Regions from separate parts of the Homo sapiens genome. Here region 1 is linked to region 2. The links are contacts of gene promoters, found by promoter capture Hi-C in human tissues and cell types (Jung and others, 2019). All regions are on one chromosome and are shown on one strand. The core of a region is centred on a gene start or on the middle of the fragment in contact, and the rest is flanking DNA. Distances in the headings are between cores, read along the strand shown. Region 1 has its middle 59 kb from the start of MYL3. Region 2 holds the start of ALS2CL (ALS2 C-terminal like).

Region 1 (6,502 bases), core at 1,443-3,942, 110 kb before region 2:
CCAAGACTTGCCACATATTTCTGTTACTTGCAGCTTTCTTTCAGAACAGACTGACTGACCCTTTTCCATGTTCCATCTGCGGGGAATGCCAGTATGGCTTCTCATTTCCTTCTTTCTTCTTCCTCATCAGTTCAGCCCCAGTAAAAGCATTCCCCCTTTCCACAGACCACTCCTGTGGACTCTGCTGGGCTGTGTAATGTAATGTGCCTTCTTCTGGGCTCCCTGGACTCTGCAGTCTCTGTGCCTGTTAATTTCTCTGTTTCCACTGGTTGACATTTTGTTCCTCATGGCCATGGGACTCTGTCTAATCTTTCCTTATCTTCCATCCTCCACCTCCAGGTGTGGAACAGAGCAGGAGTTTAGGAACTATTTGGTGAGTGAGTGAGTGATAATAGATAATTAGATGCTCATATATAGATAATTAGGTGCTCATATATCCTCTATTGCCTTACTTTTTTCTCTCTCTGCCCTTTCACCTCATTGCTTTGTCCTCCTTTTGCTTTCCAGGTTGCCTTCGTGAAGGGGGGAAAAAACACAACTGGGTAGGCAAGGGTTACAGCCCCTGCAGTGGGGAAAGTCCCAGGCTCCAGGAAGTTTATGGTTCTGGATGGGGTGCCCTTTGGTCTGCCAATATTAGAGCATGTTTCTTGTTATAGGAGAATAGAAATTCCATTCAAGCATCTTGGCTACTGAGGAATAGCCTCTGGCTACCAGAAAAGATGGGCATGGCCCCCCAGGGAACAAAACATCAAGTGCCAAGTAAACGTTAGTCGATTTTACTCTTTCCAACAAAAATTTTGAATTATCTTTTATGAATGAGGCACTGGCCTTCATCCACAGATAAGATGTAGATGGCAGTTGGGGGATAGAGGTGGTCATTAGGAGGACTCCTAGGTAAGGAGCTTGGTGGCTAGGTAGAACCTGAAAGAGATAGATGACACAGGGAGAGGAGTTGTTGACTGGCAGGCAATCAGTTTTACTAAAAATGCCAGACTTGAACAAAAAGGAAATAAAAACAAACAACAAAATTCCCTATGGGTTTCTAGTCATAAGGGGCAAGTGACATAGGGCGCAATAAGCATTTTTAGTGGTCTTGAAATACCATTTGCCGGCTAGGCACGGTGGCTCATGCCTGTAATCCCAGCACTTTGGGAAGCTGAGGTGGGTGGATCACCTGAGGTCAGGAGTTTGAGACCAACCTGGCCAACATGGTGAAACCCCGTCTCTACTAAAAATACAAAAAAATTAGCCAGGCGTGGTGGAAGGTGCCTGTAATTCCAGCTACTTGGGAGGCTGAGGCATGAGAATCGCTTGAACCTGGGAGGCAGAGGTTGTAGTGAGCCGAGACCGCTCCATTGCACTCCAGCCTGGGCCACAAGAACAAAATTCCATCCCCCCCCAAACAACAACAACAACAACAACAACAACAACAACAACAACAACAACAAGAAATACTGTTTGCCACCAAAAGAAACCAGGGCTTCTTGGAGAAATGGCTTGAAAAATTTACAGGTATGAAACAGGAAATATATAAAATAAGCCTGAAATTTCTTGTCATACCAGATAGCAAGGAAGCTATCATGTCAACAGGACTCAGAACCAATCAGAAGAGGCACCCTGTGTTCTGACATGTGGTGTTCCTGCTAGATCCCATTGCAGAGAAATCACAGCCATCCCTCAGCTTCTGAAGATACTGATTCACAGCTGCACCCCTCACAAAATGGGCACTCAGCCTCAGGGAACTGATTCCCTCAAGATTAAGTCTCTTCACAGGGGTATCCCATAGCAAATAATTGCTATGCAGAGATATAAAGGCCCAGTCTTCTTCCCTCAATTTGGGACAACTTGGAAAGGCCTCTTGTAGGATCAGCTGAGATGTCAGTTGCAACTGCCTTCTGTGAGCAGCTTCTCCTATGAGCACTCCTCAACAAACCGTTGGACAGAATTCTCTCTCAGAGCCTATGTTCAGGGAACCCAATCTAAGTTACCCTGCCTGGCAAAAGATGTCTTTGTGTGTTTCAGGATTCTATTGCTGTGTAACAATCACCCCAAACTCAGTGGCCTAAAACAACACATTGTATTATGGTCAATTCTCATTGTTCAAGCATTCGTACTTGCAAATTCACCTACTTGCTGAAATTTATTTTAACCCCCAAATCAGTACTCAGAGTGATTTTTGGACATGCCCAGGGCATGGAAAAATTTGAGTTTTCTGATGCCTAAGTTCCTAGCTGAGGCTGTACAATGTGCTATTTTGTCTGCTTTCATCTCTCTTACTGTAAACAAGTATCTTTTTTGTCATCTCTTAACTGTCACTTTTAAAAAAACATTTTTGTGCTTGTTGTTGGTGATTTTGCTGTTTAAAAGGGCCCTGGGGCCAGGTGCGGTGGCTCACGCCTGTAATCCCAGCACTTTGAGAAGCCAAGGCGGGCAGATCATAAGGTCAGGAGTTCGAGACCAGCCTGGCCAACATGGTGAAACCCGGTCTCTACTAAAAATACAAAAATTAGCTGGGCATGGTGGCGCATGCCTGTAATCCTAGCTACTCAGGAGGCTGAGGCAGGAGAATTGCTTGAACCTGGGAGGCAGAGGTTACAGTGAGCTGTGATCATGCCACTACACTCCAGCCTGGGTGACGGAGCAAGACTCCATCTCAAAATAAATAAATAAAAGGACCCCAAGAGTACTGCTGAAATGCTGGTTAGTGCTCCTAAGTGCAATAAGGCTGTGATGTGCCTTATGGAGGAAAAATAGGCGTGTTAGATAAGCTTTCCTTAGGCATGCATAGTTCTGTTGCCTGGGAGTTCAACCAGTCGAGTGTGCTAAAGGAGATGTCTTTAAAGGAACATACATAAAACAAGGTTATATGTTGACTGGTTGATGAGTCTATTTTGACTAGAGGCTCACAGGAATCTAACCCTACATTTCCTCTAGGAGCAATGATTCAGTATTCACGCATTCAGTCCTCATGATGACTTTATAAAACATAACTTCTGTGAATAATGAGATTCAATTGTATTCCTCATAATTTTGTAGAATAGTTGGCAGTTCTGCTGGTCTAGTCTGAGCTAATTCCTGTAGTTACACTTCAAGCATGGTGGGGATGTCCCAAGATGCTCTTGCTCAAATGGTGAGTGGTTATATGGGAATATAGGTAGGGGTGCCCTAACTTTTCCTCCAAAGGCCTTTCATCCTCCTGTAGATTAGATCAGGTGGACTCAGGACAGTGCTCCAAGTGGGTGAAAGCAGAAATTGCCAGGCCTCTTTATGCCTAGATTCAGAAGTTGTAAAACTTAATTTCTACCACATTCTGTTGGTCAGAGCATGTCACAAGGCCAGTTCAGTTTAAATGAGGATGGAGAACTAAATTTCATTTCTTGATGGGAGAATATGCAAAATATTGTGTCCATATTTTCTAATCTACCACAGTAAGCATAACAATTACAATGCATAAAAACTCATAAAATATGTTAAAATCCAAAATCTTCATAAAACTTTTCCACCTCAAAAAGAGAAATGATACCATTAGATTACTATTTTTCAACCTTCAGTGAATTAGTAGATCCAGGCAAAAATAATCAACAGCTGATAACATCAGAAAATGAGCCCATCCAGACATTGTGTGTCTCCAAGTGAAAGAATGCAACACCTACTATGTTGACAAAGGGATTGAACCTGAGACTAGCTGCTGATTTACAGGAAATACAGAAAACAGAACATGTTGAACCACACCATGAAGGCAATTAACAAAGTCCAGATTGTGGGAGACTCTACACGTCAGGCAGCCCAGATTCTTCAACAGATGAACTGTAAGGCAATATAGGGGAAAATTATAAGTGAAGAGTGTCTCTAAAGACATATCAAATATGAAACAGTCATAGCAAGACAAAAGTGTAGTGTTCAGGAAAACACATTTGGGTGATAAAATTATAAGAAACACAAGGAAAGAATTACTTAAAAGTCAGATTAATAGGTTATATTTGAGAGACAGAAGGCAATTGTGTTATGGAAGGCACATGGAAGGGCTTCAAGCATGACTGGCATAGCTCTATTTCTTGACCAAAATTGCAGTTACAAGTATGGCCCCCTTAAAATAATTACTTAAATGAAATGGTTTTTGTGTATCATTTTTTTTTAAACAAGTAAAAGGTAAAAGGAAAATGGTGGAACTCATCTTTAAAACTGCTATTGTGTGAAGCTTTGTGGGGATGGGTGGGGGGAGCCTTTTATTATTTATTTATTTCATGGTTATTGGTCTTCAGGTTGTCAATCTCTTCTTGTGTTATTATTGATATTTTAATTTTTTTTAGAAATATATTTAATCTAGATTTTCAAATTTTTGGCATACTTTTTTTAAAAAAGAAAACAGCTTTATTGAAGTATGATTGACATACAATAAACTGCATTTATTTAAAATGTACAATTTGATAAGTTGTGATATATGGACACACATCTGCAGCTATTACTGTAATCATGAAAATGAACATTTCCCTCAAAAGTTTCTTTGTTAGCCTTGGTAATCCCTCTTTCCCAGCCCTTCTGGTTGCTCCTCTGTCCTCAACTGGTGATCTGCTTTCAGTCACTATTCATTAGTTTGTAATTCCTAGGATTTTATGTAAAGGGGAAACATAGAGTATTCTTTTTCAGGGGGGTCTGGCCTCTTTCACACAGCACAATTATTTTGAAATTTATCCACAATCACAGTGTGTATCAATATGTTATTTTTATTGACGAGTAGTATTTCATTGTATGGATATACCACAATTTGTTTACCCATTCATCTATTGATGGACATTTGGGTTGTTTCCAGGTTTATACTATTACAAATTAAGCTACTATGATCATTTGTGTACAAGTGTCTGTTTTTAAATTATTTTATACTACTCTAGTTTATTAAATAAATGAAACAAGGTTTATGCCACATGTTTCAACAATGTTTAAATAAAGAGCTTGAAATATAAATGCTTACGAAAACTTCATACTCTTTATATCATGTATACTATTTCTAGCACATGCATAAATATGGAGGACAGGAGTCATTCTTTATATTATGAATCAGCAATAGTAAGCATCAATGATTATGCAAATCCGCAAGCAAGCAAGCAAGCAAACAAACAAACAAAAACTATTAGTTATAAAAACTAGAAATCCTTTTGCCATATTTAAGCAATATCCAAAGGTGGGGAGGGAGTTATAGGCACAGCCCTGAAAACAAGGGGACCAAGTCTCCCAATTACTTAAGTTCTGTCTTGGTTAGAAGCTTCAACAACTGCATTAGCTCTTTCAAGAAACAGAAAAAGCAAATCAAAACCCTGTTCTATAGGCATTTAATAAATCTACACTGAAGAAATACTATACTTTTGTCTTAAATTGTGCTGAAGTTTGAATACCTTTTCCTCTTGGTATGAACATGTTGTGTACAAGTCTTTGCATGTACACTTACTCTCATTTCTCTTAGGTAAATATGTGGGAGTGGAATGGATGGATCATAGAATAAGTGTATATTTACATTTTTAAGTAACTGCCAAACTTTTTTTCCAAGTGGTTGTACAATTTTAGGTTCGCAGCAGTGTACGAGAGTTCCATTTCCTGTACATCCTTGCCACTAGTTGGTATGGTCAGTCTTTCCCGTTTGTAGTCATTTGAATAAGTTTATAATGGTCTCATTGTGGTTCTAGTTAGCATTTTCATTCAACAACCCTTCATGCTAAAAACTCTCAATAAATTAGGTATTGATGGGACATACCTCAAAATAATAAGAGCCATCTATGACAAACCCACAGCCAAAATCATACTGAATGGGCAAAAACTGGAAGCATTCCCTTTGAAAACTGGCACAAGACAGGGATGCCCTCTTTCACCACTCCTATTCAACGTAGTGTTGGAAGTTCTGGCCAGGGCAATTAGGCAGGAGAAGGAAATAAAGGGTATTCAATTAGGAAAAGAGGAAGTCAAATTGTCCCTGTTTGCAGACGACATGATTGTATATCTAGAAAACCCCATCGTCTCAGCCCAAAATCTCCTTAAGCTGATCAGCAACTTCAGCAAAGTCTCAGGATACAAAATCAATGTACAAAAATCACAAGCATTCTTATACACCAATAACAGACAAACAGAGAGCCAAATCATGAGTGAACTCCCATTCACAATTGCTTCAAAGAGAATAAAATACTTAGGAATCCAACTTACAAGGGACATGAAGGACCTCTTCAAGGAGAACTACAAACCACTGCTCAATGAAATAAAAGAGGATACAAACAAATGGAAGAACATTCCATGCTCATGGGTAGGAAGAATCAATATCATGAAAATGGCCATACTGCCCAAGGTAATTTATAGATTCAATGCCATCCCCATCAAGCTACCAATGACTTTCTTCACAGAATTGGAAAAAACTACTTTAAAGTGCATATGGAACCAAAAAAGAGCCCGCATCACCAAGTCAATCCTAAGCCAAAAGAACAAAGCTGGAGGCATCATTCTACCTGACTTCAAACTATAC
Region 2 (6,650 bases), core at 2,645-5,144:
TTTACTGGCTTACTGTAAAGGGTATTACGAAGGATACAGCTGAAGAGATGCATAGGGCGAGATATGGAGGAAGGGGTATGGAGCTTCCATGCCCTCCTGGGCATGCCACCCAGCCTCCACACGTTCAGCTATTCAGAAGCCCTCTGAACCCTGTCCTCTTGGGGTTTATGGAGGCTTCACGACATCTGCATTCCTTCCTCCCAGAGTATAGGGCAGGACCCTCTCTGGGGAGGGTCTTAAGACTCGCAATCAGAAAGGTGTGGGAAAATTAGGGTCCTGACTTGGGGCAGGTGAAAGCAGAGCAGGAGAAGGTCAGAGAGATTCCGTTTCCTGGGGCCTGCCCTGAGGCCCAACACATTATAGCCAAAGACCGTAACAAGGGCAATGGGAGCTATGAGCCAGTAGCCGAGGATGAAAATCAATACCTAACACCACATGGGTTTTTTTTTCCCCCATCTTTGAGGGACTTTACATCTCTGAGGGCTTTTCAGTGAGGAATTTAAGCTCATAGAGGGGTTATGCCCTGCCTAAGGTCACACAGGAACTATGGCCTCCACCTCAGCCTTTGCCTCCAACCCAGGACACTGCTCAGTGTCCAGTACTGTTTCTGCTTCTTAGGAGGCCTCCACATCCCCCTGCACCCCAAAATCAGTTGGGCCCATCATATCTGGGGTTGGGGACCTCTGGACTCCAAGTCCCCCACCCTTGCTCCCTGGAAGACAGTGTCCCCTCCATACATGGTGCTGTGAATGCTGGTCTGCAGATCCCTGCTTCTCCCTCCTGTACTAATTTTAGCTCCTGTGAGTTTCCTGTAGGGACCCAGTCCAGCCTCCAGGGCCTCTGAACTGGAAGCTGTGAGCAAGGCAGGGGGTAGTGGCCAGAGGACCCTGTGGAATGTTCTCTCCTGGAGCCTGAAATCCCAGGGCTTAAAGTTTAGCTCTGGGGGAGCTGGGGGTAGGAAATGAGGACCCCCAGTCACAAAGCTAGGCTAGGATCCAGGGACTCAGCCTAGGGTGGGGGTGGGAGCTGGGCAGCCTAGGCCTGTGCCACAGCAGCTGGGGCCTGCTGGGAGTTGGCTGTCCCTGACCTCATCAGCCCCAGGCTCAGCTCAGAATAGCTGTGGGGCTGGGCCAGGCCTGTGTCAGACCTGCGTGTGCTTGAGCATGTGCTTTGTGTACTAAGGCACTGGTGCACATGGGAGTGCATGTGCATTCTGCATGCAGCTTTGTGTGTGGCTGGGTATGAGTCTCAATGGCTCCAGAATCACAGGTGCCATTCACATACGTGTGTGTTCCCTGGAGTAGTGTGCAGGTCTGTGTCCCTGTGGATGGGCACATGATCTGCACACGCATACCCAGGGCTGCCACTAGAGTTGTGCAACTTGGAGTCCTTACCAGTGGGTTCAATGGTAGATGGGTCCATGTGGCACAGGGACCCACCCATTCCCTGACTGTGGAATTGTATCTGTGTGCAGCGGGTGTGGGAGTGGTGTGGGTGGGTATACACATCTGTGGTGGGATTGGCTAGGGGCCCTTGGCTGTGCTGCAGGGGACTGAAGGCAGGTGGACTCAGCAGAGGCTGTCCTTTGGGCACTACCAGAGGCCTTACCTGGCCCCAAGCCAAGAATGAGCTGTAAGAGAGGCTGGGCAGGTCTTGCCCCATTTAGCAGATAGGAAAACTGGGCTTGCAATGCCCATGAGGTCACCCAGGGAATGGGGGAAGGACTGGTCTGCTGCCCAGAGCTCAGTCAGCCTTTCTATTCCCCTAGATGTGGCTGAACAGGAAGTCTGTGCTCTAGGGAGGAAGCCGTGGGAGCCCTTCCCTTCCTGCTCGAGCCCAGGCAGCACTGCCTTCCCTCAGCTGCACGTGCAGATGATGAAAGTGAGGCCCAGAGACACCTAGCATAAGATCAGATCTGTCCTGCTCGGGGCCTTGCCCCACCTGTCCCTGTTCGTCACAAGTGGTGAGGCCATATGCTCCTCCTGAGGCCATGGCCACTCTCCAGCCCTTGCCTCCCTCCTAAGCCCCAGGGATGCCTGGTGGCCCACACCCATGCTCTAGGGGACCCATAGATCCTCTAAACCGTGCTCATCCCTGAAGGAGCCCCTTGAACCCACCATACCCCTCCTCTCAGAGTCCCACATAACCCCGAGAAGGAGGCGCAGGTAAGATATTTCACCAGCAGGGGCACTACGTTACAGAGAGGCCACACACTGCCTGTGATCACACAGCAAGAGGAAAGCAGCACAAGGCCCCATACCAGCTCTTCCAGAATGTACCGCTACCTCCCACTGCCCCACAGGCACAAAGGATCCCCACAGGGAAGACCTTGGAGGCCTGTTTAGAACCTGAAGCCTCAGTTCATTCCACCTGCTGGGGCGGTGGCTCTGCCAGGCTGTGCTGTAGACTCAGGGAGCCAAGTGCCCCAGCAGACAGTCCCGCAGGCCAACAGGGCTGTGAAGGGGAGTGGGGGCCAAGGTCCGGAGCCTGGGGGTGGAGGGCATGGGGAGGGGAGGCTTTCCCAGAGGGCCAGAGGGACACCTCACCAGAAGCCTCCTTGAGGTAGCCCCCACCCACCAACACAGCAACACCTCTAGCAGGCAGGGACCAGAGGAGCAAGGCCTTTGGGAGTGGAGCCCCTCAGGCAGCAGGGGGTGCAGAAGGGGGCAAGAAAACAAGGCTGGAAAAGGGGAGGCCAGAGCTAGGGCGGGCTTTGGCAATGTGGGGAGGGATGGAGAAGCAGGAAGGGGCGGCTCTGCAGGATTGGGACCCAGGAGGAGAGCAATGTGGGGCAAAAGGGTGAGGTCACTGGGACCTGCAGTCACTCAGACAAGGGTCCCAGGCTGGAAACCCTCCAAGGGGTGATGTGCAGCTTGGCAGACAGTAAACTCCCACCTCGCAACAACCCAAGGGAGCCAGGGGATGAGCTTGGCAGGCCCCAGGCCCCTACTTACCTCCACTGGGGGTCTCTTCAGCCTGGCAGGTTGGGGGATGCCTCCCACCTCCTCAGTAGGGGGCTGAGTAGGGGGCTGGTGGGCCACCCTTTCTGCTCTTCCACGGCCGCCTTGGACCCTGAGCCTCCCCCTCACTGGAACCTGAGTGCCACTGAGAGCAATGGGTGACTAACCTGGTGGCCAGAGGGGGAATCAGGCTGCTGACGGGGGGCTTCTTTGTTACAGGTTTGAACTAAGTTCCCTCCCGCTCCCGGGGGGTCTGTCCCAGATAAGTCTTCAGCCACCCTTTCCAAGGTCTCAGGCCTTCGCACAAAGCACACGCGGCCGGCTTCATGCTCTACTAGGCCTGTTGAGACTCAGGAGTGGGGAGGAAAGGGGACTTCCCCAAGGTCGCACAGGAGGGGCGGCCGGCCGTGGACACCCAGCCCAGGGGGCCGCAGGGCGCCTCAGTATACCCCTCTACAGGCTCCAAGTTCCACGAACCCACACAGCGCTCCGCGTGTGCTGGCTTCTGTGACTCAGGGCAGACCCGGGAGGTCACGGGGCTGCACCACAGGCTCGCAGAGCGACTGACTGGCGGGGCGAGGTGGTGGCACGGCGGCCTCGGAGCCTTGCAGGGGAAGCGGGGCGCGAGAGGCGAGCCTGAGTGTGCGCGTGGGTGCGTAGGGGGCGGAGGGGTCAAGACTCCCACTTTTCCTCCCCGCGCCGGGTCCCAGGGGCCTCCGGATCCCGGGGGACGCCAGAGGGAGGCCTCAGGAGAGGCTTGGGGCGGCGGGACGGATCAATACCGCGCGCCAGCTCCTCGGTGGCCCGCCCGTGGCCCCCGCAACTCCAGAGCAACACCCGGAGGCGGGGCGGGGCGGGGCTGGGCGAAGGGGGCGGGGCTGGCAGGGGGCGGGACTGGCAGGGGGCAGGGTGGGGGTGCGAGCGAGGAGCCGCACAGGCAGTCCCGGCGCGGGGCAACCACAGCGCTCAGGTAAGGGCGCGACGAAGGGCGCGCGTCTGCGGACGGGTGTCTGCGCTCCACGCTTAGCTCGTCCAGGTGGGGGCTCCCGCCTCCTCGGCTGCTGCGGTCCCCGCCCAGCTCCTTGGTCCCGGCGGCAGTCATCCCCCGGCCGTCCGAGTCCCTCGTAAGATACCCCGCTCACAGCGTCGTCCTCCCTGCCTGGCTGCTAGCCTGCTTGGGTTCGGGGCAGCGCCCCGGGCCTGACCTGAGCCGTGGTGGCAGGGCCACGGGGCCCCAGCCAGCAGGAGAGACTGCCAGGAGGAGGTGACGCCGGCTGGTTAGGGCGGAAGGGCCCGACCCGGGATTCCAGGAGGTGGCCTTTTCGCATGGGAGCGGCATGGCAAATGCCTGGCGGCCGGAACAGGAGCTCGGGTCTGGGAAACTCCAGCGACTGAGTGTGTGCCTGGGCAGGGAGAGGAAGGGAAGCTGGGACATATGCGACAGCAGGGAGGGGTGCTTGTCTAGGACAAGAGGCTTGTAGCCATGGTGGGGCCGAGGAAGGGTGCAGCGGGGAGAGGCGAGCATGAGACTGAGGGATCAGGTGTGACAGTTCAGCGCCCCCTCCCTGGGGCAGTGCGTGTCTCTACTCTCCCCCACTGGGCACCAGACAACGAAGGGGCTGCCACGGCAGCCCATGAAAAAGCCTCCACAGCAGGCAGAACTTCCCTGCCTGTTCAGACCAGGAAATACCAGAGTGAGTGAGTGTCACGACAAGGTGTGTCAGGGGCCTAAGGAGCCAGGCCTGGGAGAGGACAGGGAAGGCCCCAGTGACCCTGCCCGGGAGGGACCTAGCGTGGACAGAGGCCAGGAATGCAGAGGAGAGACCAGGTCTGGCTACTGGTTAGAGCGCCACAGGGGCAGCCGCTGACTCACCTGGGCACGCCGTGACTGGCCAGTTCTGTCCTCACCCTGCCCCACCCCACCGCACCCCGTGGTGAGCATCAGGGCTGCCTGAGGACAGCTGTGAGGCAGGGCCCGTCAGGATCTTGCTCTGTGCCTCAGGTGAGTTGCCCACCCTCTCTGAGCCATCTAGCTAGGTGAACCTGGTGGGCTGGAGCCAGAAGTCTGGGTCTGAGCCCTGCACAAGTTCTACACAAGGGTCTCTGGACCCTCCCATTGTTCCTGGGCCTCAGTTTCCCCATCTGTACATTAGGCACAGCCTGTCACTAAGGAACCTTTGAACTGGAGGGAGGGAGAGGGTGAGGAAGCTATGCCCTTGACTGGAAGGGGGAAGGTTAGGGATGGGACAGGGGTTGGGGAGGGGGGTACTCCTGCAGGATCCTCCTCATATTAAGGTTCAGCACCTCCTCCTCCTGCCCTGCAAACGTGCACACTCATGCACATTCACGCTGCCTCACCCCTGCACTTACACTCTCCTCATCACTTCCAGGATGAAGCCCCAGACTCCCTAGCCTGGGAGCTGGGTCCCTCAGGGTCACCTAACCAGAATCCCAGCTTCCACTGCGGCCTTCCCCCAACCCACTGCCTCACCAGCCATGCTTAACTTCTGCCCGTTCCTCTGGGTGGTGTGACTCAGTTTCCCAGGGTTATAGATCCCTTTGGGGCCACAGATGTGGAAGACTCCCAGATTAACAGTTGCCAACTTGAGTCTGGAGGACTCACCCCCGGAGTCATAGGCTGCTTTGTGGGGTGGGGAGTCTAAGGACCAGATCCCCACACCCAGAGAAGCCCCCTTCCACCTGTTTGTCCTTTTGAGGGGAGACTTAAGTAGTTTGAAAAGCTGTGATCCTCTTTGGCTGGGCGCAGTGGCTCACGCCTGTAATCCCAGCACTTTGGGAGGCCAAGATGGGTTGATCACTTGAGGCTAGGAGTTTGAGACCAGCCTCGTCAACATAGTGAGATCCCATCTCTAAAAAAAAAAAAAAAAAAGAATAGAAAGAAATACAAACAAATAAAAAGAAAAAAATGCTGTGATCTGGTTGAACCCCCATTTCGTAGAGGGGTGGCTGAGGTACAGAGAGGAGTAAGGCTGTGGATAAGTTGAAGCATGTCCAGGGCTGAGCAGCCAGGTGAGGGCTGCTCCTGGGGGAGCAGCTGAGACTGGGCAGTGGGGACGAGGGACAGGAAGCCTGAGGAGGAGAGGCTATCTCTAGGGTCAGAGAGCTCCTTGCCAGGGTATGGTGTCGGCTGGGGTCATGGTGCTGGCCCCCCGGAGAGTGTAGGGATGTTGGTGTTCAAGTCTTCCTAGCAGCGAGTTATTTACTGCAGTATCTTTTCAACGTGCACTGATCTGGTTCCTAGTCTGCATCTCCTATCCTAGCCTCACCCTTTCTTCTACCTTCCCAACCAGGCTTGGATATCCTCACCTCTTAGCTTAGACCCCAGCTGACTGCCAGCTGAGAGTGAAAAGGTCACCCCCAAAGCGCCTTTCCATTCCAGCAGTTTCGGGAGATACGGGTGAGAGTTAGGTGGGCCTGGCTGCACCCCTATTCCCTTGGCTGGGCTTTCCTTGTCTGCCTGAGCTGACCTGGAGCCCCCTGTGTCCTGGGGGCCTGGGTCTGCCTCAGGGGCCCACAGAGGGAGAAGAAGCTGCAGCACAGAAGCTGCAGCTGGGTGTCTGGTGGCTTCCCCTTCCTGCCTCTCTCTCTGCAGCCTCACCCTCTCGAAGCAGCAGTAGCAGGAAAGGTGGGGCAGGAATGCCTGGCCTGGGCCTTTGGCCAGAGCTCTGA

Evidence for each region. Contacts are between HindIII fragments. The study calls those that stand out against the background at their distance.
Region 1: a contact is called between a fragment that was not itself captured here and the fragment with the promoter of ALS2CL in region 2, in 2 of the 25 tissues and cell types used here (mesenchymal stem cells and mesendoderm cells).

The regions. Positions count from the first base shown.
Region 1 is chr3:46,801,473-46,807,974 of GRCh38, reverse strand. No RefSeq gene overlaps it. Among named protein-coding and RNA genes, the nearest start is that of MYL3, 59 kb to the left of the region's middle. The HindIII fragment of the contact is 4,074 bases long and covers 656-4,729 here.
Region 2 is chr3:46,690,923-46,697,572 of GRCh38, reverse strand. It overlaps ALS2CL (ALS2 C-terminal like), which reads left to right and starts at 3,894. Exons shown (of 26, transcript NM_147129.5): 1 at 3,894-3,930. It also overlaps a transcript of TMIE not described here. RefSeq lists enhancers at 579-1,078, 2,168-2,957, 4,539-5,330 and silencers at 3,590-3,669, 3,820-4,069, 3,800-4,094. The HindIII fragment of the contact is 18,920 bases long and covers 1-6,650 here.